Linked DNA regions of Homo sapiens: regions 1, 2 and 3 are each linked to region 4. Evidence: promoter capture Hi-C in 16 types of primary human blood cells and fetal thymus (Javierre and others, 2016). All regions are on one chromosome and are shown on one strand. The core of a region is centred on a gene start or on the middle of the fragment in contact, and the rest is flanking DNA. Distances in the headings are between cores, read along the strand shown. Region 1 holds the start of RUFY3 (RUN and FYVE domain containing 3). Region 2 holds the start of GRSF1 (G-rich RNA sequence binding factor 1). Region 3 overlaps MOB1B (MOB kinase activator 1B). Region 4 holds the start of ANKRD17 (ankyrin repeat domain 17).

Region 1 (6,642 bases), core at 2,438-4,937, 2.5 Mb before region 4:
TACTTACTATGTTTTGAAGTATTGCATGATATAAAGTGAATCTATAAACTGTCCCCTTATTAATATATAATATGGGAATATTTTTGGCTAGAAAGGAATTGAACTGAATTAAATGAGAATGTGTTAAATGAAGGCTTGTGTTCAGTATTTGGATATGAAAATTCTGTTTCCTGGAAAAGGTGTTTCTGTCTTACTGCTGCGTGCCTAGTGCCTGGATCACTACCTGGCATGTGGAGCACCTCTTAGTGAATATCTGTTGAATGAATGAATGAATGAATGGCTCTGAGTCTAGATGTAGGGTAATGATGAGAGAGAATGAGATAGAAATAAAACCAGGAGTATTTTGCTTTCCTTAGTAACTTACTGATTTTCCCCAATTATAAATAAGCCTATATATATGCCTTCTTACATTGTACCAGTATACCCTCCTTCTTTTTTTTATTTTGAGACAGGGTAGAGTGCAGTGGTATGATCTCGGCTCACTGCAGCCTCTGCCTCCTGGCCTCACGTGATTCTTCCACCTCAGTCTCCCAAGTAGCTAGGACCACATGTGCGCGCAACCATACCTTGCTAATTTTTGTTTTTGTAGAGATGGAGTTTTGCCATGTTGCCCAGGCTGGTTTCAAACTCCTGAGCTCAAGCCATTCACCTGCCTCAGCCTCCCAAAGTGCTGGGATTACAGGCACATGCCACCACATCTGACTAATTTTTGTATTTTTAGTAGAGATGAGGTTTCACCATGTTGGCCAGGCTGGTCTCGAACTCCTGACCTCAGGTGATTTGCCCGCCTTGGCCTCCCAAAGTGCTGGTATTATAGGCATGAGCCACCGCGCCCAGCCATCCGCCCTGTCTTCGTAACAATATGAAAATGCCAGTTTCTCTACAGAATTTGATTATTAGCATTTTTTTCTTTCAGTTCAGTCTCAAATTATGATGAAGCATTTGAGATTTTAACAATATTCAAGGAGAATTTTTTTAGTTTTCAGAAATTAGGTAAATCAAGATGTCCCTCTGATAACAATCCCTAGAAAGGAATAGTCTCAGGTCATATTTCTTGAATTTGTATGTTCCTCCTTAAAATTGGAACCCTTCAATACAAAAACAAACAAACACTTTCTTTCAATTGTCCAAAACATTTTCAAAGAAAATTCTTATTCTTCTCTTTGTAATTTATGTAGTTCATAAAGCAAGTACCTGCCCTTTTGCTACCAAGGTATAAATGCCTCATTGGATAATATAGGGCCGTGTGTGTGTGTGTGTGTGTGTGTGTGTGTGTGTGTGTGTGTGTGTATTAAGAAAATATAATTGTCTTCAGTATCTTATCGAATGGGAGGATTTTAAAAATATAACATGGTTTAATCTGCTTAGAAACATATTTCATGCTTAAGGCTGGGCATGGTGGCTCACGCCTGTAATCCCAGCACTTTGGGAGGCTGAGGTGGGAGGATCATGAGGTCAGAAGTTCAAGACCAGCCTGGCCAAGATGGTGAAACCCCGTCTCTACTAAAAATACAAAAATTAGCTGGGCGTGGTGGTGGGTGCCTGTAATCCCAGCTACTCGGGAGGCTGAGGCAGAGAATTGCTTGGACCTGGGAGCTGAGATCACGCCACTGCACTCCAGCCTGGGCTACAGAGCAAGACTCTGTCTCAAAAAAGAAAAAAGAAAAAAAAAGAAACGTATTTTATGCTTAATACAGAAACTTGATAAATACAACAAAATCAAAAAGGGGGGAAATTGCCATTAATTGGGAAAGATTTTACTTTTTTAACTTGAAGTTTTTTTTTTGCATTTCTGCCTAACCTAAAAGGTCAGGTTTTTGTACCTTGGAGAAGGAAATTATAAATGCCCAAGAATAAGATATTTAAATTGAAAATCTACTTTAGCTTTTCTTTTTATCTTTTTGTTTTTTTTCCCTCTGAGAACCTCAATTTTTTATGCTTTAGCTTTTCTTAAAACATAACATTTAGCATAGTAAAGAATTTTAATAGCTATGTAGATAAGAATGAAAGAGGTGAATTATATGCTTGTTAAATTAATCTAACTGCCTCTTTTACCATCTTTACTATAGATTATTATCCGGTATTAATTGTCATCCTTTTATTCAGTCCTTGATCCCAAAGTAAGAAGAATTGATGAGGATATGTGCATTGTGTTATGTCTGATCACAGTTTGACTAGCACAGTCTGGAAGTGGGTTGTACAGGATGAGAGAGAGAAGCCTAATTGCTCTCCCAGCATCAGCAGCATCTATAAAGCATCCTGGGAATTGCTTGCCCTACGTTCAGAGCAGCTGGTCACATGAGCCTGAATTTTCAGTTCAGTTCATTAGTCAGCCATTTTGGTCAACACCCTGCTTACTGCGCACGGCCAATCCTATGAGAACTCAGCATCCCAGCTCATCTGAGCAGATCCTGGAAGTGATTTCTGCAGCTCAGGATTTTTTTTTTAAGCTACATTGAAAATATAGGTTTATTTTTTGTTCAGGTTTTTCTTTTATATTTTTTTTCTGCACAAAGGAGGAGGATTTTTCACTTACTCATATCGAGGCCAGATTTTTAAAGCCAGCTAAGGCAGCATCAGCTGTGCGGGATTTAAAGCCTATAGCTCAGCTGAAAAAAAAGGTGGGGGGCAGGGAAGGGAAGATAAAAGGAGAGGAAGCTGGGAGAAGACAAGCATCATCTTATTTTGCTATGTGGTAGGAACTGTCTATAAGATAGTGTAGAATTGTTTATCTTGAGCAGTTTGTTCTTAACCTATAAGGTATTTTTCCTTTTTTTTTTTTTTAAACCTCCCCCACCCTTTTCCTGAAAGCTTTGTTTCAGAGCTTTGTATTGGGTTTTTTTGGTGAGGAGGTTGTATTTATTTTTTTGGTGTGTGTGTGTGAGTGTGTGTGTGTCTGTGTGTGTGTTGTGGTCCCAGCTGAGTCATCATGTCTGCTCTGACGCCTCCGACCGATATGCCAACCCCCACCACTGACAAGATCACACAGGCTGCCATGGAGACCATCTACCTTTGCAAATTCCGAGTGTCCATGGATGGAGAATGGCTCTGCCTGCGAGAGCTGGATGACATCTCACTTACACCTGACCCAGAGCCTACCCATGAAGGTATGGTCAGATCCTGTCCGCTAGTATTTCACCAGCATCCTCATTGTTATGGGGGAGGGCTGGGAGGATCAGGGAGAGGTAGAAAGAACCTACACTCTCAACTGTTAACAGTCCTGAAAACCTTGCATCCTTACTTACCACCCAGCTCCCCTTCTCTTGCTCATGGGGGAAAGATAATTTTTTTTCTTGCCCCTTTAGGTATCCTTTCAAAAGATGCTGGATACTCGTTTAGAGTTCTTTGTCTTTAAGCCTCTAAATAAAACATTTGAGGTCACTTATCACATCTGATTCTATTCAATAATGAGAAAGCTATTAATTTTGTTCATATATGAAAATGTTATAGAAATTGTAGTGATTTATAACACTAAGTTAAGACAACATGACTATAATTATAGGATTGTACATGATGAATACAGTAGAAACACCAGGGTATTTGGTAATGGTATCCTCACCATTATATGAGGATACAATTTTAAGCAAGTTATGACATCTAGGAAATGTTTGATAAAACATTTTTTTAACAATATGGATTATTAGGTTAGATGAGAAAATAACTTTTCAGCATTTATTTATTGAATATGGACTCCTAAGAAAGCATAATGCCTGGAAAGGTTAAATATGATTAATATGGCATCCCTATAGATTACAATAGAATGGTAATATTGGAATCTATTGGCCATTGCTTTTTATAAATTATTTGTGGTAACTATTATGATCCATTTGAGATTTCCACTGTCAGTACCTCTGAGATCTTTGTGGTCTCTTGACTTGCGACTTTTTTCCAGGACTCTTGCTAATTTATGAGAGGTTTTCTGCTTCTACCCTTTAATTCTCTTAATACCACAGAAAGAGAGCTGATTTGAATCATAGCTACAAATCGTTTTGTTTTTAATACAGTTGCTTCTTAGCTAAGGTTTATTCTCTGTCCTTATACTGATGAAAAAAAACAAAAAACGCTTGCATATGAGGAGAAATTCTTTATAAACATCTGCCTGATAGTTAGGCACATCGACAGGACAAAGAAGACCATAGGTGAATTGTACCTAGCAGATGGGGTTAGGAAAGGTGATTCTCTGCCTTTGACCTTGAGTTGAAATCTTATCATGACTCAGAATTTTCCCATTGTGTTTGATAAGCATTTTATCTTCCCAGTCAGCCTTAGCCTTGAGAAAGTTTTAGGGATGGTTAATAACACAGAACACAAAGCAGTCATTTTGGGTGTGTCTTTAAGAACAATGTTTAAGTGGTTTTTAAGACCCTTTGCATCTTTTAACAATTGGTTTGTTAATTAGACAGCTTTCTTTGGCTGTATGTTTCGTTATGTGCACAAGTTATAAGACATCAGCTGAAATTCCATGCAATGCCAGTACTATTTATTTTTTATTATTATTTTATTCTATATTTTCATCAAAACATCGTTACATCCAACAATTCCAGTACTACTTAAAACAGCCTCCAAAGCTTTAAAAGTCTTTAGGGAAGAAAAATACAGTTTTAGAAGGCTACCAAGAAGTCTTCTGGCAACTGCCTCAGTTTACATATTTTGTTTGAAAAAAATGTATTCCCGTCCAATTTGAGAGTTATACAATATGAAATATTCCCTTTATCATGAAATCTAGTTTACCAGTGTCTCAAAAATAATTTTTAACAATTTTAACACCTCAAATATATGTTTTTGGAGCAGGATTCCTATGGATAAGCAAAAGTGAGCTGTTTGGTTCATGTAAGCGTTTTTAGCAGCGCCATTTGAATTCTTCATAGAGAAATCTGTAGCAACACATTTCTCAGTATGGAAAATGTGTGAGAGCTATAATCTAAGTAATAAATTGTATGTCTGCTGATTAAAGAAATCAGATAAATACAGAGTTTCCAAGACCTGTAATCAACTATAGAGGATTTGGAAGAAAATAGAGAAATGCCGACAGTGCATTTTAGAATTTTGCCTTAAATTGGGCAAGAAAGCTATTATTTTAAATTACTAGAAATGAAAATAAAGAAAGCATAGTCCCATGAAAGCCTGTGAGTATTACTGCCTTGCTCCATTACCAAACTCTGGATATTTAAACAGTCATTTGGTCCCAAGAAATACCCACTTTTATGTTAATACCACTGATAGTTATTAGATTTAATTTAGCTATAAGCATTTAAGTGGTGGTCACCAGGCCCATGATTATGTGAATCTCACCTTGTTCACAAAATGGAACTCCTGATGTCTGGACGCGGGAGTATTCAGACTGCTTTCCGGGCTGATTCACAGAGGGAAAAACATCTGACCACCCAAATCCTAGAGTGAAGTCTCCTCACTCCCACAAAAGAAAATAGGCAAACAGCATAATGTTCCCTCTTAAAATGATGTAGACTGACTGTGTGTACTCAGCAATAGAGGCTCTGTGGCTTCCATATTTTATTTTCTTAAAACCAGAGTTCCTGGCCCTTCACTGAGCAGTCCGCAGTATAGGCCTGGACCTAGAGTTTCTGCCTACTTTAACCCTTAAATAAATGAAAATAAAAGCATTCACTTCATTATCTCAATGCTTATTGGTGGTCAATGAGGGATTATCTCTCTTTTGTCTTATATACTCTTTTTTTTTTTTTTGAGACAGAGTTTTGTTCTTATTGCCCAGGCTGGAGTGCAATGGCGCAATCTTGGCTCACTGAAAACTCTGCCTACCGGGTTCAAGCGATTCTCCTGCCTCAGCCTCCCAAATAGCTGGGATTACAGGCATGCGCCACCACACCCAGCTAATTTTTGTATTTTTAGTAGAGACGGGGTTTTTGCATGTTGATCAGGCTGGTCTCGAACTCCCAACCTCAGGTGATACACCCTCCTTGACCTCCCAAAGTGCTGGGATTACAGGTGTGAGCCACCATGCCCGGCTTATATACTCTTATTTTCAAAAGCCAACAGCAAATCTACAACAAGTTTAATTGCAAATAGATTTCCCCTAAAGGCAAGAGCCTGTGATTGACTCCACAGGAGAAGGGTCAGGAGAGGCTTCATTAAGTGAGACCTTAAGAGATAAACAGGTGATCACCAGACCGACATAGGGAGGGCATTTCAAACAGTACACAGTGAGCTGGCCCAGCCAGGGAATAGCAACAGGAGCACAGAGGGCTTCTGTTTGGCACAACAGGGAGCAAGACTGGAAAGATAAGCAGGGGCTTGACTGTAGAAATCTTATTCATACTGAAAAGCCTGCACTTGATTCTGTAGTGAAAAGCTACTGGTGCTTTATGTCTGGGAGTAACATAAAATAAGATTTGTGTTTGGAATGATCACTCTGGCAACAGTGTAGTGAATGGATCAGAAGGATATAAGCTCTCAGGGACCCCTAACTATAACTTTTAAAATGGTCTGGGTAAGAGATGACAATCTCACATTAAGGTAGCAAGAGTGAACACCAAAGGAACAATCCCTGGAAAAGCAGAATGTACCCGATGACTGAGGGGCTGGGTGGCTGGAGAATGAACATAAGGCAGTGCCTGGGATGACTCTCCAACTTCTGGCTGCAGAAGCTAGGTTCCCTTTACCAGT
Region 2 (7,008 bases), core at 214-2,713, 2.4 Mb before region 4:
ATGTAATTTTGTTTTTCAACTTTTATTTAGTACATGTATAGGACTGCTACATAGGTAAACCATGTGTTATGGGAGTTCGGTATACAGATAATTTAGTTACCCAGGTAGCAAGCACAGTACCCAATAGGTTTTATTTTTCTTTTTGAGACAGAGTCTCTCTCTGTCACCACGGCTGGAGTACAGTGGTGTGAACTCAGCTCACTGCAACCTCCGCCTCCCAGATTCAAGCGATTCTCCTGCCTCAGCCTCCCAGGTAGCTGGGACTACGGGAGCGTGCCACCACGCCCGGCTAATTTTTTTTGTATTTTTAGGAGAGATGGGGTTTCAACATGTTAGCCAGGATGGTCTCGATCTCCTGACCTCGTGATCCGCCCGCCTCGGCCTCCCAAAGTGCTGGGATTACAGGCGTGAGCCACCGCACTTGGACCCGATAGGTATTTTTTAATCTTCTCCCCAACCCTCAAGTTGGCCCTGGTGTCTTCTTGTTCCCCTCTTTGTGTCCATGTGTTCTCATTGTTTAGCTCCCACTTGTAAGTGAAAACATACAGTATTAAGTTTAATGTTCCATGTTAGTTTGCTTAGGATAATGGTCTCCAGCACCACCCACATTGCTGCAAAGCACATAATCTCACTCTTTGTTATGGCTACGTAGTATTCCATCATACCAGCCGGGCACGGTGGCTCACGCCTGTAATCCCAGCACTGTGGGAAGCCGAGGCAGGCAGATCACAAGGTCAGGAGATTGAGATCATCCTGGCTAACACGGTGAAACCCCAGCTCTACTAAAAATACAAAAAATTAACTGGGTGTGGTGGCAGTCGCTACTAGGGAGGCTGAGGCAGGAGAATGGTGTGAACCCGGGAGGCGGAGCTTGCAGTGAGCTGAGATCATGCCACTGCACTCCAGCCTGGCGACAGAGCGAGACTCCGTCTCAAAAAAAAAAAAACCTACATAGTATGATGGATTTTTTTTTTTTTTTGAGACAGAGTCTCACTCTGTCGCCCAGGCTGGAATGCAGTGGCACCATCTCGGCTCACTGCAAGCTCCACCTCCCGGATTCACACCATTCTCCTGCCTCAGCCTCCCAAGTAGCTGGGACTACAAGCCTGGGTAATTTTTGTATTTTTAGTAGAGACGGGGTTTCACTATGTTAGCCAGGATGGTCTCGATCTCCTGAGCTTGTGATCCGCCCGCCTCGGCCTCCCAAAGTGCTGGGATTACAGGCGTGAGCCACTGCGCCTGGCCCATACTATGCAGTCTTAACGTTAAAATACTTTTGTTGCATTCAAAGTCTTTATACATATGTAAATTGAGACAGTCTCACAGTGTTGCCCAGTGTGGTATGGAACTACTGGCCTCAAGCCATCCTTCCACCTTGGCCTCCCAAACTGCTGATTACAGGCCTGAGCCACTGCCCCTGGCCCAAAGTCTTTCAATTCGTTACATACCGCAAACAGCACACATGGTATCATTTGGTATATGCAACCAACCAGAATGAGACAGTTCCCAACCATCAAAAAGGAAGGTGACAGCGTAGTCTGACATGGATTTGTAGCACTACCTTTTACTCAGACAAAATTACATACTTAAAACATACATACCTGCTTGTGAGAAACAATATAAGGAAAAAAAATAAATAAATAAAACATACATAAAATATACCTGAAAAAAAGTTAAGCACATCTTCCATAGTGCATGACCAGGGCAGTCCTTGAGCTCGAATGAGAAAGACATCATCCACTTCCTCTTCTAACTTGGACGGGGCCAATTCATACTCAGGGGGTGGTGGAAGGTCTTCCAGGTAAGTAGTTTTGGACTCCTTCCAAAGGAAATGAAGAATTGTAAAAAGAGTTGCATTTACAGGTAAAAAATGTAAAAAAATTCTTAGAAAATGTTTATTCTACAAACTAACATTCTAGATGTTATTTCAGAAGCAAAAAGTAAACTTCACCAATGTAACCCATCCTGTTTTGGCTTAAATTGTACATCCAAAAGCCATAAGCAGGTATATCCTAAAGGTTTGGCAGGACACAAATTTCATTCAGGGTTTGTTTTAAAATTCATCAACCCCAAATTATAGCTAACAATAGTGTAGTTAAGGCAACACAAGAAAGGTCCTGACAATTTGACAAATATTTGATTGCCCCTACACACAGTGTTTGCCGCCCTCATCTGAAATAGCTATCTAGAATACGATAAGCATACAAGATGAGATACTGAGTGCTATAATTAAGATACAAAATACTACAGGAATTCAAATCAGAGCACTAACAGATGAATCAGGATGTGACATGAGATGGGCCTTGAAGGAAGGATAGAATTTTTATGAGGATATAAAAGATAGGGTATTCCAGTTTGAAGGCGAGAGAAAGAAGCAGTACGACCAAATGCCCATTTGAATAACAGCAATTAATTCCAACTGTTTAAATTAGGAGCCAAAGAAGGTGACCTGGCAAAAGAGGTTGGTACCATAGAGCAGAGGGCCTTGAGTGTGGAGCTCAATGTGTGTCCTTCACTTGGTAGGCAAAGATAAGTTAATACAAGACACTGAGGACTGGGTAAATCAACAAGACAGCAGGACGCCTTGGGAATATTCCTCTGTCAGCTGGTATGCCAGACCAAGTGATTAAGGGAAAGATCTTAAAGACAACGGCAGCAGTGTGAGGCTACAGACTTGTAAAGTCTCTTTTATCGGATTAAGTAAAACTGGAATTTAGTAAGAATCCACGAAGCACTACAACCATAACCTAAGAAGACAACTCAGGCTTTAAGACTTGCACTCTACTGGGCCAGGTGCGGTGGCTCACGCCTGTAATCCCAGCACCTTGGGAGGCCGAGGTGGGCGAATCACGAGGTCAGGAGTTCAAGACCAGCCTGGCCAACATGGCAAAACCCCATCTCTACTAAAAATACAAAAAATGAGCCGGGTGTGGTGGCGTGTGCCCGTAATCCCAGCTACTCGGGAGGCTGAGGCAGGATAATCGCCTGAACCCGGGAGGTAGAGGTTTCAGTGAGCTGAGATCTCGGCATTTCACTCCAGCATGGGCAACAGAGCAAGACTCCGTCTCAAAAAAAAAAAAAAAAAAAGACTTGCACTCTACCGGACTAAGGACAGAGATATCTTTCTACTATCTGTCATTTTCTTTTCTTTTCTTTTTTCTTGAGACGGAGTTTCGCTCTTGTCGCCCAGACTAGAGTATAATGGCACAATCTCGGCTCACTGCAACCTCCCCGGGTTCAAAGGATTCTCCTGCCTCAGCCTCCCGGGTAGCTGGGATTACAGGCGCCCGCCACCCCGCCCGGCTAATTTTTTTGCATTTTTTTAGTAGACACGGAGTTTCACCATGTTGGTTAGCCTGCTATCGAACTCCTGACCTCAGGTGATCCACCCGCCGCAGCCTCCCAAAGTGCCGCGCCCAGCCCTATCTATAATTTTCATTAAGGCTTAATGTTAGGCCGGGCGCGGTGGCTCACGCCTGTAATCCCAGCACTTTGGGAGGCAGAGGCGGGCGGATCACGAGGTCAGGAGATCGAGACCACGGTGAAACCCCGTCTCTACTAAAAATACAAAAAATTAGCTGGGCGCAGTGGCGGGCGCCTGTAGTCCCAGCTACTCGGGAGGCTGAAGCAGGAGAATGGCGTGAACCCGGAAGGCGGAGCTTGCAGTGAGCCGAGATCATTCCACTGCACTCCAGCCTGGGCGACAGAGCGAGACTCGGTCTCCAAAAAAAAAAAAAAAAAAAGGCTTAATGTTTAGTTTTAAGGAATAAATGTAAGCAGTGTCTAACACATAGTAGATGCTCTACAGATATCACCGCAGTCAATTTCATAGAAAAAAAAAGAGAGAAGCTAGCTCACAAAGGTTTACTGGAGATGGTTTTGTTGTGGTTTTTGTAGACAACTTTCCCCATTTTTCCATAATTCCATAAGCATCACAAGCTTTTACAGAAAAAGGCAGCGTAAAGTATTGGGCCAGGATTCAAATCAATTAGCTCAGCCACTGGCAGACAGCAGCCATGCTGATTAGCCTCCCAGTCTCCCTAAGTTAAAGGAGAAGCACAAATTGAATTAAGATAAATATGACCTAAGGAATCAGGGGCTGGGTAGTTAAAAAGTGTGCAGACACTTCCCAGATGCCACGTACCAAGAAGAGAAAGGTTCATCTACAAAGCACAAAATATTTGCAATCTAACTACACACCGACTTTTCTAAAAAAATAAAGAAAAAATGGAAAGGAAAACATTGCAAATTCATTCCTGGGACCCCAAGTTGTGTCCTCAACCCTCAACGCTCCCTCCCATTCACCCCCTCCCCCCAACAGCTAAATCTCCAAACTGCTTTCCCAGACGAGGCGACACACAGTCCTTAAAGACCTTCTGTATGAGTGGAGTTGCAGAGGTGACCTTCAGTAAACCGGGACAGCTCGTCTTTCCCTGGGGACAGGAGAGGGAACGGCGCGATGGGGACAGGCTCCTTCCCTACAAGCCAGCCCACGCAACTGTGTGCGCGCACCTTCCCAGCAGCGGCCGACCGAGAGGCGCCGAGGGCCGCCCAGGCCTAGCGCTCGGGCTGCACGGAAACTCCCAACCCTCCGGCGGGCTCGGGCCTCGCAACTTCACAACCAGCCGGCGGAAAGCAAGAAGATGCGAGGTGGGGGCGTCAGCAGCCTCACGAAACCTACCATGGGCCAGGCGGGGAACAAGGCCTCAACATTCACCCCAGCCACACTTACACTGCCCAACCGACCAGAGACTCGAGGCGAGAACAAAACAAGCAGAAGACCCGACGCCTGGGAGAGCTTCCCTTGTTCCAGGGCCCAATAGGAGCACAGGGTGGACGGGGGCGGGTGTGCGGCGAGTGTCGCGGATCCCCGGGCGTGCCCGCGAGGCGCACACGGAGGGACGGAGGGGCGCGGGGGCGCGTGCACGCGGCCCGGGAGGGATCTCGCGCCAGGTCCCTCACGGCGCCCACGTACCTGGCTGTAGCTGCGCGTCGGGACGGCGGCCGCCGCCGCCAGCGACTGCGGCAGCAGAGAGGCACGGAGGGCAGAGTAGGACGCGGCGGCCGCGGCCGCGGCAGAGGTGGCCACAGCGGGAGGCCCCGCCAGCCTCCCGGGAGGCACAGGCCCGGTCTGGAGGCCACGCGTCTGGGAGGCAGCGGCCGCGGCGGCCCCGAGCAGCAGCAGCAGGCGGCGGCGGCCCGAGACGCCCGACGGGATAGAGCCAGCGGCGGAGTAGAAGGGCAGGCAGGCGGCGCCGGTGCGCCGGCAGCTGCTGCAGTTACAGCCGCAGCCCCGGAGCAGCGCCCCGAGTACCCAGCGCGTGCCGGCCATGGACTCCGGAGGCGGCGCAGGGCCTGAAGGCAGCTGCTCCAGCAGCGATGGTGGAACGGAAGTGGAATCCAGGGCCGGTTGGGGGTGGGGTGTGCCTGGCACATGCGCCGCGGGCACTGGGTGGGGGGCCTCCGAGAGTCGGAAGGAGGTGGAGGAGAGCGCGACGCTCCGCCCAGTCTCCGCCCTTGGGCGGGGCTGCCCATGGTTTGGGCGGGGCTGCCCATGGTTTGGGCGGGGCTGCCCATGGTTTGGGCGGGGCTGCCCATGGTTTGGGCGGGGCTGCCCATGGTTTGGGCGGGGCTGCCCATGGTTTGGGCGGGGCTGCCCATGGTTTGGGCGGGGCTGCCCATGGTTTGGGCGGGGCTGCCCATGGTTTGGGCGGGGCTGCCCATGGTTTGGGCGGGGCTGCCCATGGTTTGGGCGGGGCCCGGGGAAGTGGGTGCAATCGAACTGCTCTTTTTTCAGGCGGTGGAAACTGAGGCCCAAAGTAAGTGAGGCTAGGGGCCTGGCGCAGTGACTCATTCGTAGTGACTCATTCTTGTAATCCTAGCACTTTGGCAGGCAGAGGCGGGTGGACTGCCTGAGGTCAGGAGTTCGAGACCAACCTAGGCAACACGGTGAAATCCCGTCTCTACTAAAATACAAAAAATTAGGTCGGACGCGGTGGCTCCCGCCTGTAATCCCAGCACTTTAGTAGGCCGAGGTAGGGCGGATCACCTGAGGTCAGCAGTTCAAGACCAGCCTGGCCAACATGGTGAAACTGTGTCTCTACTAAAAACACAAAAATTAGCCGGGTGTGGTGACGGGTGCCCGTAATCCCAGCTACTCAGGAGGCTGAGGCAGGAGAATCGCTTGAACCCAGGAGGCGGAGGTTGCAGTGAGCCAAGATCGTGCCACCGCACTGCAGCCTGGGCGACAGAGTGAGACGCCATCTCCAAACAAACAAACAAAAAAATTAGGTTAGGGCCATCCTGCTCTGGGTAGGGCCGAGAGCTGTAGCACAAGTCTGTGCTGCCCTGCGCTGTGCCACCGAAACCCGTGGTGTGAGTGGCTAAAGAACCCTTTCTGAAAGGAATTGTGATACCTTGGTTATAAAAAAATCGTTGGGATAATATCAGAGATTTGGTACCCCCCGAATTTGAGGTATGTGAGGAAGGAGAACTTCGTTGTTTTAAAATGAAATATAGGCCTGGCGTGGTGGCTCATGCCTATAATCCCAGCGCTTTGGGAGGCTGAAGTGAGAGGATCACTGGAGCCCAAGAGTTCCAGACCAGCCTGGGCAACATAGGGAGACCCCGTCTATACAAAAAATAAATAAAGCTGGGTGTGATGGCGTGGGCCTGTAGTCCCAGCTACTTGGGAGGCCGATTGCTTCAGCCCAGAAGGTAGAGGCTGTGGTAAGCTATGATTGCCACCACTGAACTCCAGCCTGGGTGACAGAGTGAAACCCTGTCTCTAAAAAAATAAAAGAAAACATATATATTTATTATGTACTGATAATACATAACAAAGGTGAACCCTCCCCTAATGAAACTGTATTCACAAGTGAACACACAGAGATTTGCACACACATACACAAAGACTGGTTGTGCAGCTTTTCTCCTCCTGAGCCAGGACTTGTCAAAGACAAGCAAAAGGAAGTTGTTAGAGTAAAAAATAAGAGAAAGCTAGTATTT
Region 3 (7,137 bases), core at 2,354-4,853, 2.3 Mb before region 4:
CTTGGTTAACTGTATTTAAATGGTGTCCAGATCATTCCTTTCAACAGGAAGCAGCAACTTCCATTTATTGTTACTTTGTGTCAGGCATTACATGAAGTAGTTAACATCCAGTATCACATTTAGTCCCCACAATAATTTTATGAGATAGGGGGATTTATCCTAATGTCACAGATGTAAAAGCATAACATCAGGAGTGCTTAAGTGATTTACCCAAGACACAGACCTAGTGAACAAGAAAAAAATAATCTACTTTTATGTACTTCAAAAGCTAATTTCCAACAAATGTTCATGGTAATTTACTTTGGAATAAGATGCAAATAATGTTTTTGCTATTTATTCTGCCTTTCTTTATATCATGCATAGGAATTCAACCTTATTGATAGAAGAGAACTTGCACCACTCCAAGAACTGATTGAAAAACTCACCTCAAAAGACAGATAAAAGGATGCAGAGCTGTGCAAATTGTTCCTCAAATGAAGCAGTGTGGAGTGTATTGGGGATTTTGTTATATTTTGTTTTTATCTGGATTGTTTTTGTCCTAGGTTTGGGGGCGGGGGCTTGTTTGGGTTCCTTTTTCTTTATTCTGATTATGTGAAACCATATTCTATTGCTAGGGGAAGCCAAGAACCATTCTCTATACACTTGATAAGGGTAAATTTATCTTAGTGTTTTTAAACTTGGTTTTGGTTACTTGAGGAGTTTTTTAATAATATTGTGTGCTGCAAGAAAGTGCTTGTTGATTGAACTGCCGATGGATTGGTTTCTGTGTGGTATAAATTGTGGCCCATTTATGAAGTCCCCAAAAGAGTTATGTTTTTAAGTGCCTTGGCAGGCTCACTTCTGAGGTGCAAAACATAGATATAGAACTGAACAGGGCTTGAAACAATATTAGGATTACTACCCAGGGCACTTACTGGTGCATGTTGTAACATATCTATGATAAAAGCCATAGTTTACCTAAAATGGTGATTTCCAGCCTTTACTGCTTTGAAGAAACAGAATTTGTAAAGGTATGCATGTAGAACATAAAAAATATTTCTTAATTATTTTTTATATTGATGGTAATATATTACGTTCAACAATGCTTAAAGCTCTACAAGCAGGTCTTTTCCCACCTCTTGATATCTGTGATACTGAAACTTGAGGATGTTGAAATGTATTACATTTTGGCTTCTTTCTACATGTTAACTGCACTGTAGATGTAAAAATTCAGGTTATATATAGGATTGCCATCTTCAGAGGTGATGCTGAACTGTGAGGTTTCCTAGTAATTGCCAAATGAGCCGTAAGTCTGCAGAATTCCCTTCTACTTTGAAGAGAAGGGGATAGGAATGTATATTTGGCTGGGGGCATGGAGATGTTCGTATGTATGAGGAGTTAGGGATGGGGAGTCAAGTTCTAGAAAGTTTTGTCTGAAAACCTTTGAATAGAATGGCATGAAGATTTTAATCAATTACTTATAAACAAAGTCTTAGAGACTTCCTTTTAGGAATCAACTTCCATGAGAAGTTAAAAATAAATTATTAATTTTAGGTACAGACATTAAACATGGAATTTAAGGACTGTTGGGGGAAATTGATCACTTCTTAGCATTTCCATTCAGTGAATGGAGCTGATGTTTGCCTGTCATTTTAAGATGATACCATACCTTCTTTGGTTATTATAGGTCCAGTTTGAAGCATTCTGACTTCTGGTTTTTCCACCCTGAAAGGAAATGTTTTTCTTTGCAGCAGTATTAGATAATGAAAAATGCTAATTCAGTAGTTATTAACTTCTAAATTTTATTCGCCATGACTTTCTAGTGAATTATTACCATAAATAACAATTTCAGAAACTTAGTTTTTAGAATAAATATTAATTTTTCCACTTCAGTTTTATTCTAGAAAATACCCTTTTTAGAAATCCAGTTTTAGTTTTGTCATTTTCGATAAATCTTTCTTCAGTTAGAAATATATATCCTTCCTTCAGTTGAAACATATACCTTTTTCACATCTAGGAAGAAATGCTTGCTCTGAAATAGTATAGATTAAAAACACTCAGTAGAAAAGAATCTAAAATTAAATGAATTTGTTTTGCCATTAAAGTAGAGCAGTGATACAATTTAATGCCATTACAATTATGTTGACTAGAAACTGCCTTTTTCTCCACTTCATTTCTAGCAATTATTTACCAAGTACCAACAGTAGAAGTAACAGGAAAGCCTGGCAGAGTTAAATATCTTGGACATTTATTGGTAAAGCTTATTTATAAACTGCAGTCAGAGCTAGTTAATTTCCTTAAATCTTTTTGTATTCAGATAGATAATATGAATCATTATGGGTTGATTCAGAAATAAAATTTGTGAGGTGATTTTGAATCTTGTCCATATAGGAAAATGAAGCACAGAATTACTCAGTCTTCCATATTGTATTTGACTTCATATCAATCTAGTAAAAAAGGAGTTGCAATAGCCAAGTATAGAGAGAATAGTGAAAAATTAATCTTGCCCTTTCAAGCCTTATACAGTAGTACACTGTACTTGTTTTTAGTAGTAAGACCTACTTTCCCACTATATGTAGATAGTTTGTTTTCACTGTGCCAGAATCTCAGGTGCCTGCTTAGAGTATTTCTTTAATCACAGTCACTGGGAAGTAAGGAGATGTATATATGTGTATATATGGTAACAAAGCATAGCAGTTCTCTAGGGGAGAGGCCTGGCATTGCACATGGTGTTACATGGCTACAAGTAAGGAAAAAATCAGAAAGTGAAAGAACTGATGTAATAAAAGGTTGATTTGGTTGGTTCCCATGAAAGTTAGTAAGATGCCCTTTTAAATATAAGGATCAGTGCTTTGTTCTGCAGCAGAGTTTGCTGATAAATGTCTGTTGGATTCTTTTTGGATTTCTTTAATTAATTTGTAAGTAACCAAGATAATTATTTTCCCCCTTGCTCTCTATATTAATACGTAGCTATAAAGCAACAGTTGGTTTTCTTATCCTTTGATAAAAGCATCCCATAAAATATAAAGTAGTAAGTTAACATAGTATTATTGTCACACACAATGCTTTTTTTGGTTAAATGTTGATACGAAGCAATGTTTTGGAATTACTTTAATTGATGGAGTAGTGGTGGTAGAGAGAAATTAATAACAAAAAGAGTGAAAATATTTTAATTAGCAGTAGATGGTGCTACTGGCTTTCATTTGCTGACTTGATTATTCCCTTTCTCTTAAAAACCATGGCATTAGACTGCACTAAATTAACAAGCATGTTAGTTGCTGGTAGAGGTTTTGGAGGTTAATTTACCTTAAATTGGAAGACTTTTAATTGCAGTCTCTTTCTACCTTCCCTCTGTTAGTCATTTGTAAATTCTAAATGGTCACCATAAAATGTATTAGGTAGGAGAAGATACGTTTTATGTATAATATATCTCAGACTGAGTTACTGCCTGTCTTATCAGGATGGATAAAACACTACAGTCTCTTATCAGGAAATAGAGATGATGTGGATATTTATATATTACATATATAACCACCAGACTCCATTTTATATATTAGCATTTTCCTTGCTTATGGGAAAATAGCAAAACAACATTTCATTTATACTTTTGTTTACCCCTCTCTGAGACAGGTTTTGATAACCACTGAAATGGTAGAATATGTGAGATACAAATATTGAGTTGTAGAACTTTCTTTTTAAGGTGAATAAGTCATGCCTTAACATCCAAATAAGAGTTCATCTTCAGAGTGGTTCTTTTGGGAGCACTGTTTATTCCAGCTATACTGCAAAAGTATAATGTTTTTGGAACTGTTCTAGAGCATACCATGAAAAGCAGTTTGTTATTATGCAGGAAAATCAGTTTCATCATTTTAGTTACACTAAACACTTTTGGCAGCTTAATATGACCTTTTTAAATTTTTTTTATTTTTTTTATTTTTATTTCTTTAAGATGGAGTCTTGCTCTGTTGCCCGGGCTGGAGTACAATGGCATGATCTCAGCTCACTGCAACCTCCACCTCCTGGGTTCAAGCATTTCTCCTGCCTCAGCCTCCCAAGTAGCTGGGATTACAGGCAGCACCACACCTGGCTAATTTTCATATTTTTAGTAGAGATGGGGTTTCAACATATTGGCCAGGCTGGTCTCAAACTCCTGACCTCAAGTGATCCGCCCTCCCCAGCCTCCCAAAGTGCTGGGATTACAGGTGTGAGCCACCACAGCCAGCCAGTATGACCTATCTTAATCATCAGCTCAACTGTAATTTAAATTTGGCTGTTCTCTGGAGCTAAACCATTAGGGAAGTTCAAAGGAATGTGCCATGATTTCCGAATTTGCACAAGAGAATGTTTTAAGCATTGGTAGCATAATTGAATAAAAGAATAGTTTCCTGATGTCACTATTTTGAAGTGGAAATTATCACTTGGATGTGGAGGTTTTACTTTTTAAAAACATTCAGCTTAATTACCTTACCTTAATTACCTTAGTTAGATATACTAATGGAAAAAAACCAAGTCCTTTCTCTAGAACTTGTTTTCTATTTTTGTTCCTTTTCATGAAAACTTCTCAATTTAATTTTAACTACTGTAGGATAGTATTGATTGAATGGATACTATGGAAAAGTGGATCCAATATTTAAGATAGAAGTAGTTTAAGGAGACAACAGCCTTTACTGCCATTTTTTTTTAAATGTTTTCACTCAGATGAACAATTTGACTTTAATAAAAGACTGGAGATTTTTGTACAAAGAAATAGGAATAAGTTTCATATACTAATTATGCTGAGTTTTAAGCCTACATATCACAAAATATTTAGAATTGTATAACCTTTTCATATATTTATAACTTTTAATGTCTTTTTAAAAGATGTGGGACCAAAAATATATTTATAATTTGGAAATGTGACTGCATACCAATAAGAAAACTTACCTTATTTTGAAATTTATCTGGGATATTAAAGAATCTACCAATTCTTAAAAACACAGATTTATACTTTAAGCTTATTTTAAAATTAAAGAATATATACCAATTCTTAGAAACACTTTAAGGACTACTCTTAAATAACTTAAATATCAGAGTTTTGTTGTAATATTAAAATTTACCGTGGAAATCACTGTTGTTCAGCTATCACCTTAATTGTGTATGATATGATAAATGTTTAGCAGTAAAGCTATCTTAAGATTTAATGGAAAAGTTTAATTTGAAGATGTAACAAAAATTCTGACCACAGTTGATTCTGAATTTTTAAGGCTTTCCTAATAGGCTGATCACAGAGAATAATCCATTTTGAAGGTATAAAACTGCACTGTATGTCTGTCACTTGTAGCTGAACTGATTCACATTTTGACAAAAGAGAGAAAATACAAAAATGAGTTTTGCAAATGTAATAACTTTTTCTGCATATAGAACTAAATAATTGAAAAATATGGGCTATAGTTCTCAAAGGTAGATAGTAAAATCACTGGCTTTTTCCAGCTGTATGTTTTTCCACTGTGCGTGTACACACACACTGGAAAATAATTAGGCTGATTTTGCAGGTCTTCATTGTTAGAGATTCTGAAGTATTTACTGTCAATTCATAGGTTTCAGTTTATTTAGGAAATTAGTGTTTGACAGCTTTTTTTAAATTATTTCACTGAAGCTGAGATTATTAGTGATACAAAGTTAAAATTTCAATATTTAATTTCTCTATATATTATTAATATTAAATTGTTTTTTACTTATAAATTCATGTTCTCATCTGATTTAATATTAAATTTGTATAGGTGGGCGTTTCTTACCATTTTGCACAAGTTTTTGTTTTTCTGAAATACTTAATTGTGCAGGTTGTAAAAAAGATTAGTGCATTTTCATTTTAAGGATGCTTTGCTCCTTAAATTGTTCGACAGAAATGACTTTTTAGGGAAAGTAGTTTTTTTGGAGCTACTAACTTGTATTTATTATTGTACATGCATAACCAGGGTGGTGAGGGCACTAATCTTGTAGGAAACACTTACTTGATGTTTTATTTGAACTTTTCCTATAGGTTTAACTTTTACTGCATAGAATTAACACTAGGAACAGTGTCATGAAATCTGGGTTGAAGGAGAATACAGTATATATGAGAACACTTAAAGTTCAAATAGAAATCATTTCTGAAGACAAAAGCAGAGGAATATTGTCAGTGCCAAGTAATGGAAGAATAAGGGCGGCATTTACACTGTGCAAGTATTGAGAAGAGTGCATAAAGACAGGGAACTACTCTCATGGAGACAGTTTCTCTCTTATAATCAAGTAACTAGAAGGGGAAAAATCATCTAAGTTATGAAATCCAACATAGGCGCTATATTACAAACTGTGCCGGATTATGCAAATTGTAGTTGTTACTGATCAAAGTTTAATTGCTTCATTTTTGTTTAAAAAGGGATACTGATGTCAGAAAATCTGTAATATGTTTTATTCAAAAGATGTAAATAATGTATACAGACTTGTATGTGATGGGATGGGAAATATTTAAATTCTAGGTGTTTTTTTTTTTTTAAAGAAGAAACTCAATGTTTATAAGAAAAAAATGAATAAATAGTTACGTTTGGCCATGAATCCTGACTTTGCATTACTGTTTATTTTTGCTATAGGCATTCCCACACTAAACACATTCCAAGGGAAATATTGATGGCATATGGAATATGTTGAACATTTAAAATTTGTTAGGCACTATTTTCTGTAATGTTCACAACAACCAGTGTCTTAACATCTTAGAAAACTAAAGCTCAGAAATTGTACAAGTCACTGATTTGGATTACGGTTTTAAAACCCTACTGTGTCTGAACTTGAAACCAGTGTTTCTGTTTTACTTTTTTCACTTTTTTCTTTATTCTGCAGTATGCAGGTGTATGTTTTCTATAATATATACTATTACAGTGAGAACAGTTAGCACAGTAATAATCATTTGTTGACCTCTTCACCAAGCTATTATTTAATATTTTGTCTTCATTACAGATCATTAAGGAATATTAATAATATTGGAGAATCATTTACCAAGTTCCAAAAGGAAATGTGTATTTTATTTTATTTTATTTATGAGACGGAGTCTTGCTCTGTTGCCCAGGCTGGAGTGCAATGGCACGACCTCAGCTCACTGCAACTTCCACCTCCTGGGTTCAAGTGATTCTCCTGCCTCAGCCT
Region 4 (6,214 bases), core at 180-2,679:
AATTATAAAGTTATTATGAAACCAGATCACTAGGACAAACCGAGAGGCCTTCCTATTCCAACTCACCACAACCAGGCCTGGCTCCAAAGCCTACCCTTTGGCTGTCCCATATTACGGGACAACAGGTCCTAGCTTAATTCTAACTCACTAAGGAAACATTCGAAGGCATGTATGTATGTACGTGTAAGGATCAAATATATTTTTCATCCACTTACAAATGTATATGGTCATTTGTAATTATTTAAAGTTACTGATAAATTTATACAAATACAGCATCAGTTCATCGAAAATCCCTGGGAGATCGAGGAAATGAAGTTACTTCAGCAGCCAGGATAGTTACGAAAAACCCTGCAGAACAGTATGGAAAAGTACAGCTTCTCACGTGTCCCTCACATACACAAACACTTAGCTCTGAGTCCATTACAACCTTACGTCCCCCCTCAAACTGCTCCCCTCCACCTCACAACTGGGAGAAGTTGATCAACCTCCTAGTTGGTCCCCAAGAGACTCATTTACCCATTATTTTACTCCTCCCGCTTTGATCCCGATCCCGCCTCAGACTAAGGTGGCCCTACTGGCCCCAGGCAGACCACCCCCCCACCCCCCGGCGTGCAAACAGGGAATCTAACCAATTCCCTCCATCCTTAACCAAGTGAGCCATCCCATGATAACAGGCTGTTCACCAACTCTGTGAACTCCGTGGTCCTCCCACCCCCACGTGTCAGCTACCCTCCCCCACATTCCCACACCTCACGATTTAGGCCGAGGGAAGAAAGGGGGCAGTCGAAAGCCTGGCCCCTAAGAGATCAACCCACTGGAATCTGTCCCACTCCAAATCCCCTCCCACCTTCGGCCCCTATCCCTTACAGTCCCTTCCTCCCTCCTTCCTTTGAAACCAGGCCCTTGCCTCAGAAACCTCCTCTTCCTCGTCGTCGTCGTCCTCTTCTTCCTCGCTGTTGTTACTGCTGGTGCCGCCGCCGCCACCTCCGCCTCCACCGCCGCCTCCACCGCCGCCGCTGTTGTCGCTGTCGCTGCTGCTTTCGCTGCTGCTGGGGGGTCGGCAAGTCCGGTTACGCTTGGCCTTGTGGTGCTGCTGCTGCGGCGGCTTCTTCTTCAGGAGCAGGTCGCAGACTCGCACCATCCCACGAGGAGACGAGGCCGAGCGAGCTCTGCTGCTGCCGCCAACGCCGCCGCCGACCTCCGCCGCCGCGGGGGGGCCCGCCACAGCCGCCACCGCCGGGGGGCTCCCTTCTCCTTCTGCAGCCGTCGCCGCCGCCACCGGAACCGTCGCCTTCTCCATCCCCAGGGAAAGAGGGAGGGCGCGGACGGGGGAGGGGCGTGGGGCTACGCTCTACCGCGACTTCGGCCGCACTGGGGCCGACACAGCAATCGGTGCCGCCTCCGCCGCCACCGCCTCGGTCACCTCTACTGCCGCCGCCGCCGCCGCCGCTCCGCCAGCTCTCACCTCGTCTCGCGATACTAAGGGCGGGGAGCCTGACGATGGGAGGGAGGGAGGGAGGGAGAGGGAGGGAGCAAGGGAAGGAGGGTGAGGCGTAACAGGGAGACCGGGTGTCGGGAGAACCAGAGGAGAGGAGACTGGAAAGAAGCGGGGAAGTGTGCCTGGGGCAGCTTCCGAAGGGGAACGGCGGGGACAGATGAGGGGGGCGCGATTGCAACCAGAGCGCCCGCGAGCTCCCGGATTTCTTCTCTTTCCTCGCTATTTCCCGCACACACAGCCCTGCAGCCCTCCCTTCTTCCTTCCTGGCTTGTGATTAGAACGCAGCCGCAGGCGGAAGTGCAGTGACGCCATCAGCCGTCGCCTGAGCCGTGGCGCGCGGGTGGCCGAAAGGCGAAAGTGAGATTTCAAGGGCCGGGTCTGGGGCCCCGCGGGCGCGCAGTGCTGCGGCGTGTGGGGAGTACGGGGAGGCTGGAGAGGAGCCGGCCCCGGGCAGTGTGAGGTGCGGAAGCGCGGTCCAGACACTTTGCTGACGGGAGGCCGGTCCGCCAGATCCGGGAGGTGGGGCCTCGTTCTGGACTGCTGTACGTAGTTTTATTCCTGGTCATTTTTTTCCACCGCCAAATCGAGAGATAGAGCTTTGGATCATGAGAGATGGCGTCGTGTTGGGAAAAGAGCCTTCTTTACCTGAGTTTAAGCTCGGCTCATAGACATCCTCTACCTGAGTTTACACGTGTGTAATATGAAGGCAGTCGATTAGGAGATGTCTAAGATCATTACTTACACCTCAAGTTTCCAAGGGGAGGAAGACACGGGAAGGATGCGTGGTCTGTGCCAGACTTTGTAGACGATTCACTGAATGACCCTGATTTAGCTCTTCCGGCCCTCTTCGATTCAGCTTGGAAGCAAGCATAAATAGTGATTGTTGTCTGTATACTTCTCTCGGAAGGAATGCTGTTATGGGAGTTGTGGGTTCATTTTTAGGTGTCTGAAGAAGTTTCAGGACTTTTGAAATGATAGTGGAGCCCATTGAACTCAGAATTATCCCTTTCTGGTCTAGTAGGAGTATAGTGGCATACGGAAAATGAAGCAAACATCAAAGACAGATGTACTGGCACAAGATTAAAAGTATGTCTCAGCTGACATAGTTGCCATTTTAAGACTGCTTAGTTTAGCTGAATATGCCTGGATTTTTTTTTTTTTTAGCATTTTTTTTCTTTTTAGCATTGGCATACCATATGAAATGTGGGCAGTTGCCAGTACTCTACAGAGTACCAAGGCAGAATTGGCAATGACTAAATCAATTCATTCAAACAAAAATTCATCATGTGCCTACTGTGCGCATAATTTGTGGAATCAAAGTCTCTTGTTTCCAGGGGCTTTACAGTGTAATAAGTGCTATAGTAAATATATATACGGAGTGGTAACCATCTGCCTATTCCTCTCCTACAGTCGTTGCTGAGTTCCAGTGTAGAACAGAGCACTGCATTGTGTATCTCACCACTACTGATTTAGATTTTATAATTTCAGCTGCATCCCTCCCTCCTACTTTGTATATTCTTCAGCATCTTTTTCTCCCTTTCCACTTGAATACTTTTCGCAATCTTTAAATCCCAGCCCATTTTATTATATGACTTTTAACTTAGACTTCACAATTTTCCAAGTGCTAGAAATTTCCTGAGATTGCCTTTTCTCCAGTATCAACGAATGAGAGACTCCCTGTTCATATATGAGATAAACTCTTCATACATATTCTAGTTCCAATACCCCTCTTTCTCATGCATTTATTATCTTTTCTGTTGTCAACCTTCTACAAATTCTGGTTCCTTAGCTAATTCTTCTGTAGCTTTCAATTATTTCCTTCACAAGCAAACTTTCTTTCTTTAAAAAGTATTCTATACTCAGGAGGCTGAAGCAGGAGAATCGCTTGAACCTGCGAGGCGGAGTTTGCAGTGAGCTGAGATCCTGCTACTGCACTCTAGCTTGGGCGACAGAGCGAGACTCCATCTCAAAAAAAAAGTGTCTACAATCAGTGTCTTTTTTGTTTTCTGAAATTGACTTGTCAGCCCTCTGCAGTCTAGTCTCTGTGTCTATCGTGCTGTGCTACCAAAAATGCTCTCTTTAAAGTAATCTCATTGTTTGGAAGAAAATGAGTTTTTTGTTCTTTAATATAATAGTGAAATGATGATCCTGTTTCACTAGTAGGATAAGGTTCAAAACTATTAAAATGGACAAGGCATGTAAAGTCACTTTCTTTTATTTTTATCTTTTTTTCCCCCCGTTAGAACCTCTGGCAGGGACTGACTAGCCCATGAAACTTATTTCTTCTTCCCGGGCACACAGCTAAACTAAATTTCACAGCTTTCCTTGTAGTTGGTTATAGTCATGTGATGAACTTCTTTTTTTGAGACAGAGTTTAGCTCTTGTTGCTCAGGCTGGAATGCAATGGCACAATCTCAGCTCACCGCAACCTCCGCCTCCCGTGTTCAAGCGATTCTCCTGCCTCAGCCTCCCAAGTAGCTGGGATTACAGGCATGTGCCATCACACCCGGCTAATTTTGTATTTTTAGTAGAGACACGGTTTCTCCATGTTGGTCAGGCTGGTCTCGAACTCCCGACCTCAGGTGATTCCCCCACCTCGGCTTTCAAAGTGCTGGGATTACGGGCGTGAGCCACCGAGCCTGGCCGTGATTAACTTCTAGCCAATTAAATATGAATGGAAATGATGTGCTCATTTTTAGGGTTAATGAAGTCCTCCTATTCTCCCTTACTCTTTCTTCGTCAACTTGATGCCTTTGAGCATGGTGACCTTCAAAACTATGTATTGGAGATGCCAAAGCCAGAAAAGAGAAGAATGAGTGGCTGAAACAGTACTTGGAAGACAGCCACCCCAATTAGAAACACCCCTTTTTGCACTTACTGTAAGAGAAAAAATTGAGATTTGAGAATTTATATGTATAGGAGCTAGAATGACCATAGCTAGTCCAGAAATTGGTACAAGAAGTGGAGTACTGCTAAAACAATAACCTAAAATATGTTACATCAGCTTATTTATGATGCAGCAGGTGGTAGAGAATGTGATTTGGAGGCTAGAAAAAGGAGGCCCATGTTTGCAGTGGCAAAGTAATTAGTAAAACTGTCACCTGAAATAATTCAAAATCAGATCACCTATCTGTTTAGATTAGCTCCAGAGGAAATGATTGAAAAGAGCAAAAGTAATACTGTGTTGAATTTTACATTTTACTTTTAGTAAGGTTTTACTAAAGAGAGAAACTCAGGAAATACTTCACAGAAGTGAGAGTGTACAGGAATATTTCTCAGGAAGGGTTGGAAAAGTTGACTTTTATAAGACTTCTAATAAAAAAAAAAAAAAAACTAGAAGAGGTCTTGAGTATAGTTACCCTTGAGATTAAGTCCTGCAACAAAGATCAGGAAAAGGGTTTGGTCTTTCCATTCAAAGTCATTATTTTAGATGGCTTCAAGATAGCTACGATAAAGGTCTAAAGGAACTGGCATAGGAGCAAGGCAGCAAAGCAGTAAATTAGGCTTGATAATTATGTAAGAAAGAACTTTGGGTGTAGTTACCAGAAGCAAATCAATCAGAAGACTACATTTTTAGAGGAATTTTATTAATCATACTAAATCTGGCTCAAATATCATTGTTCGGGTGTTAAAACAGAGGGTAACTGTCCAACCCCAAGCTTGCATAAGTAGAAAAATAGAGCATAAAACCTTAACAGCTCCCCAGTACCCACACAGGATGTGGCCATGGAGAATGATGGACAAAAAAAGAACATTTCAGAAGCTCGTATAAGGAGCTGTACTAAAGACTGGACAGGGAGTTTCTCCTGAAGACTAGAATTGGAGTTTCATCAGAACTTTCTTCAGTTTCAAGGAGATGGGCCGCAAAATGTTTATGCAGTATTTCATCATTATTATACATGAATAGTATTGCTCAGTATCACATTTTTTTTCTGAATGAGAGAATGTATTATAGTTATCTGTCCCTGAGTTACCACTATATATTGGGTTTGCAGGGATGGGGGTGACAATAAAGATAATTTGTCTTTTTAGTTCTTAGGTCACATCTGTACCTAATGAAGAGAACTGCACATTTTCTGAAAATCCTAGACTTTGAGCCTGTTCCAGTAACTGGTTAAAACTTTAGATTGTCTCCTTTGGGACAGGGTATGTTCTGTGTGTGGAAAGACAGGTAAAATACATGTTTAGTGATCAGAATAGTAGATTCTTGCAAATGCTAAATTCTTCTGGCCACACAGCTATATTTCCATGCCTCTCTTGCAATTAGGTATATGGGTTAGGTGTGCTGATTAGGTTCTAACCAGTGGAATGTGAGAAGTGATGCACTCCTATTCCAGCTCTGGCCTATGGAAACATCACATGAGCAATCCAATATATCCCACTCCCCATCAACTTGAGGCAGATGAGCAAATTTGCACTGGAAACTATGTGTTAAAGATGGCAAAGCCGCAAGATAGGACTCCTGGTTTCCTGAATCTTCACTTGGAGGATACTTGCTTCCCAATTAGAGACACTTGTGCTAGAGTTTCCTGACTCTTCACTGGGAGGATACTTGCTTGCCAATTAGGGACACTTGTGCTACAGCTCATACGCATTCTTTTGTGTTAGGCCACTGAGATTTCAGAGCGTGCCCTAATAAAGACCTGTCCCTCTTTCTCCAGATGCAATCGTTCATTACCTAATTCTAATTTTTATACCACAGGAGTAGGCCCACAA

What was found. Contacts are between HindIII fragments. The CHiCAGO score rates a contact against its expected background, and 5 or more counts as called.
Region 1: a fragment that was not itself captured here is called in contact with the fragment with the promoter of ANKRD17 in region 4 in 2 of 17 cell types (naive CD8 T cells and total CD8 T cells); the score reaches 7.9 in naive CD8 T cells.
Region 2: a fragment that was not itself captured here is called in contact with the fragment with the promoter of ANKRD17 in region 4 in 1 of 17 cell types (activated CD4 T cells); the score reaches 6.4 in activated CD4 T cells.
Region 3: a contact is called between a fragment that was not itself captured here and the fragment with the promoter of ANKRD17 in region 4, in 1 of 17 cell types (non-activated CD4 T cells). The highest score is 6.4, in non-activated CD4 T cells.

The regions. Positions count from the first base shown.
Region 1 is chr4:70,719,645-70,726,286 of GRCh38, forward strand. RUFY3 (RUN and FYVE domain containing 3) reads left to right here and starts at 2,320. Exons shown (of 18, transcript NM_001037442.4): 1 at 2,320-3,107. The coding sequence starts at 2,930. The HindIII fragment of the contact is 1,757 bases long and covers 2,810-4,566 here.
Region 2 is chr4:70,834,496-70,841,503 of GRCh38, forward strand. It overlaps GRSF1 (G-rich RNA sequence binding factor 1), which reads right to left and starts at 5,395. Exons shown (of 10, transcript NM_002092.4): 1 at 4,976-5,395; 2 at 1,663-1,819. The coding sequence starts at 5,332. It overlaps LOC124900710 (a long non-coding RNA gene), which reads left to right and starts at 4,497. Exons shown (of 3, transcript XR_007058131.1): 1 at 4,497-4,650. RefSeq lists enhancers at 4,098-4,752, 4,753-5,406 and silencers at 4,803-5,352, 5,413-5,662. The HindIII fragment of the contact is 4,947 bases long and covers 1-3,937 here.
Region 3 is chr4:70,981,617-70,988,753 of GRCh38, forward strand. It overlaps MOB1B (MOB kinase activator 1B), which reads left to right. Exons shown (of 6, transcript NM_173468.4): 6 at 364-6,552. The coding sequence ends at 441. Among named protein-coding and RNA genes, the nearest start is that of DCK, 8.5 kb to the right of the region's middle. The HindIII fragment of the contact is 2,733 bases long and covers 2,238-4,970 here.
Region 4 is chr4:73,257,369-73,263,582 of GRCh38, forward strand. ANKRD17 (ankyrin repeat domain 17) reads right to left here and starts at 1,430. Exons shown (of 34, transcript NM_032217.5): 1 at 908-1,430. The coding sequence starts at 1,300. It overlaps ANKRD17-DT (ANKRD17 divergent transcript), which reads left to right and starts at 1,798. Exons shown (of 5, transcript NR_187399.1): 1 at 1,798-2,040. RefSeq lists a silencer at 1,122-1,521 and enhancers at 1,483-2,079, 1,682-1,951. The HindIII fragment of the contact is 8,436 bases long and covers 1-5,155 here.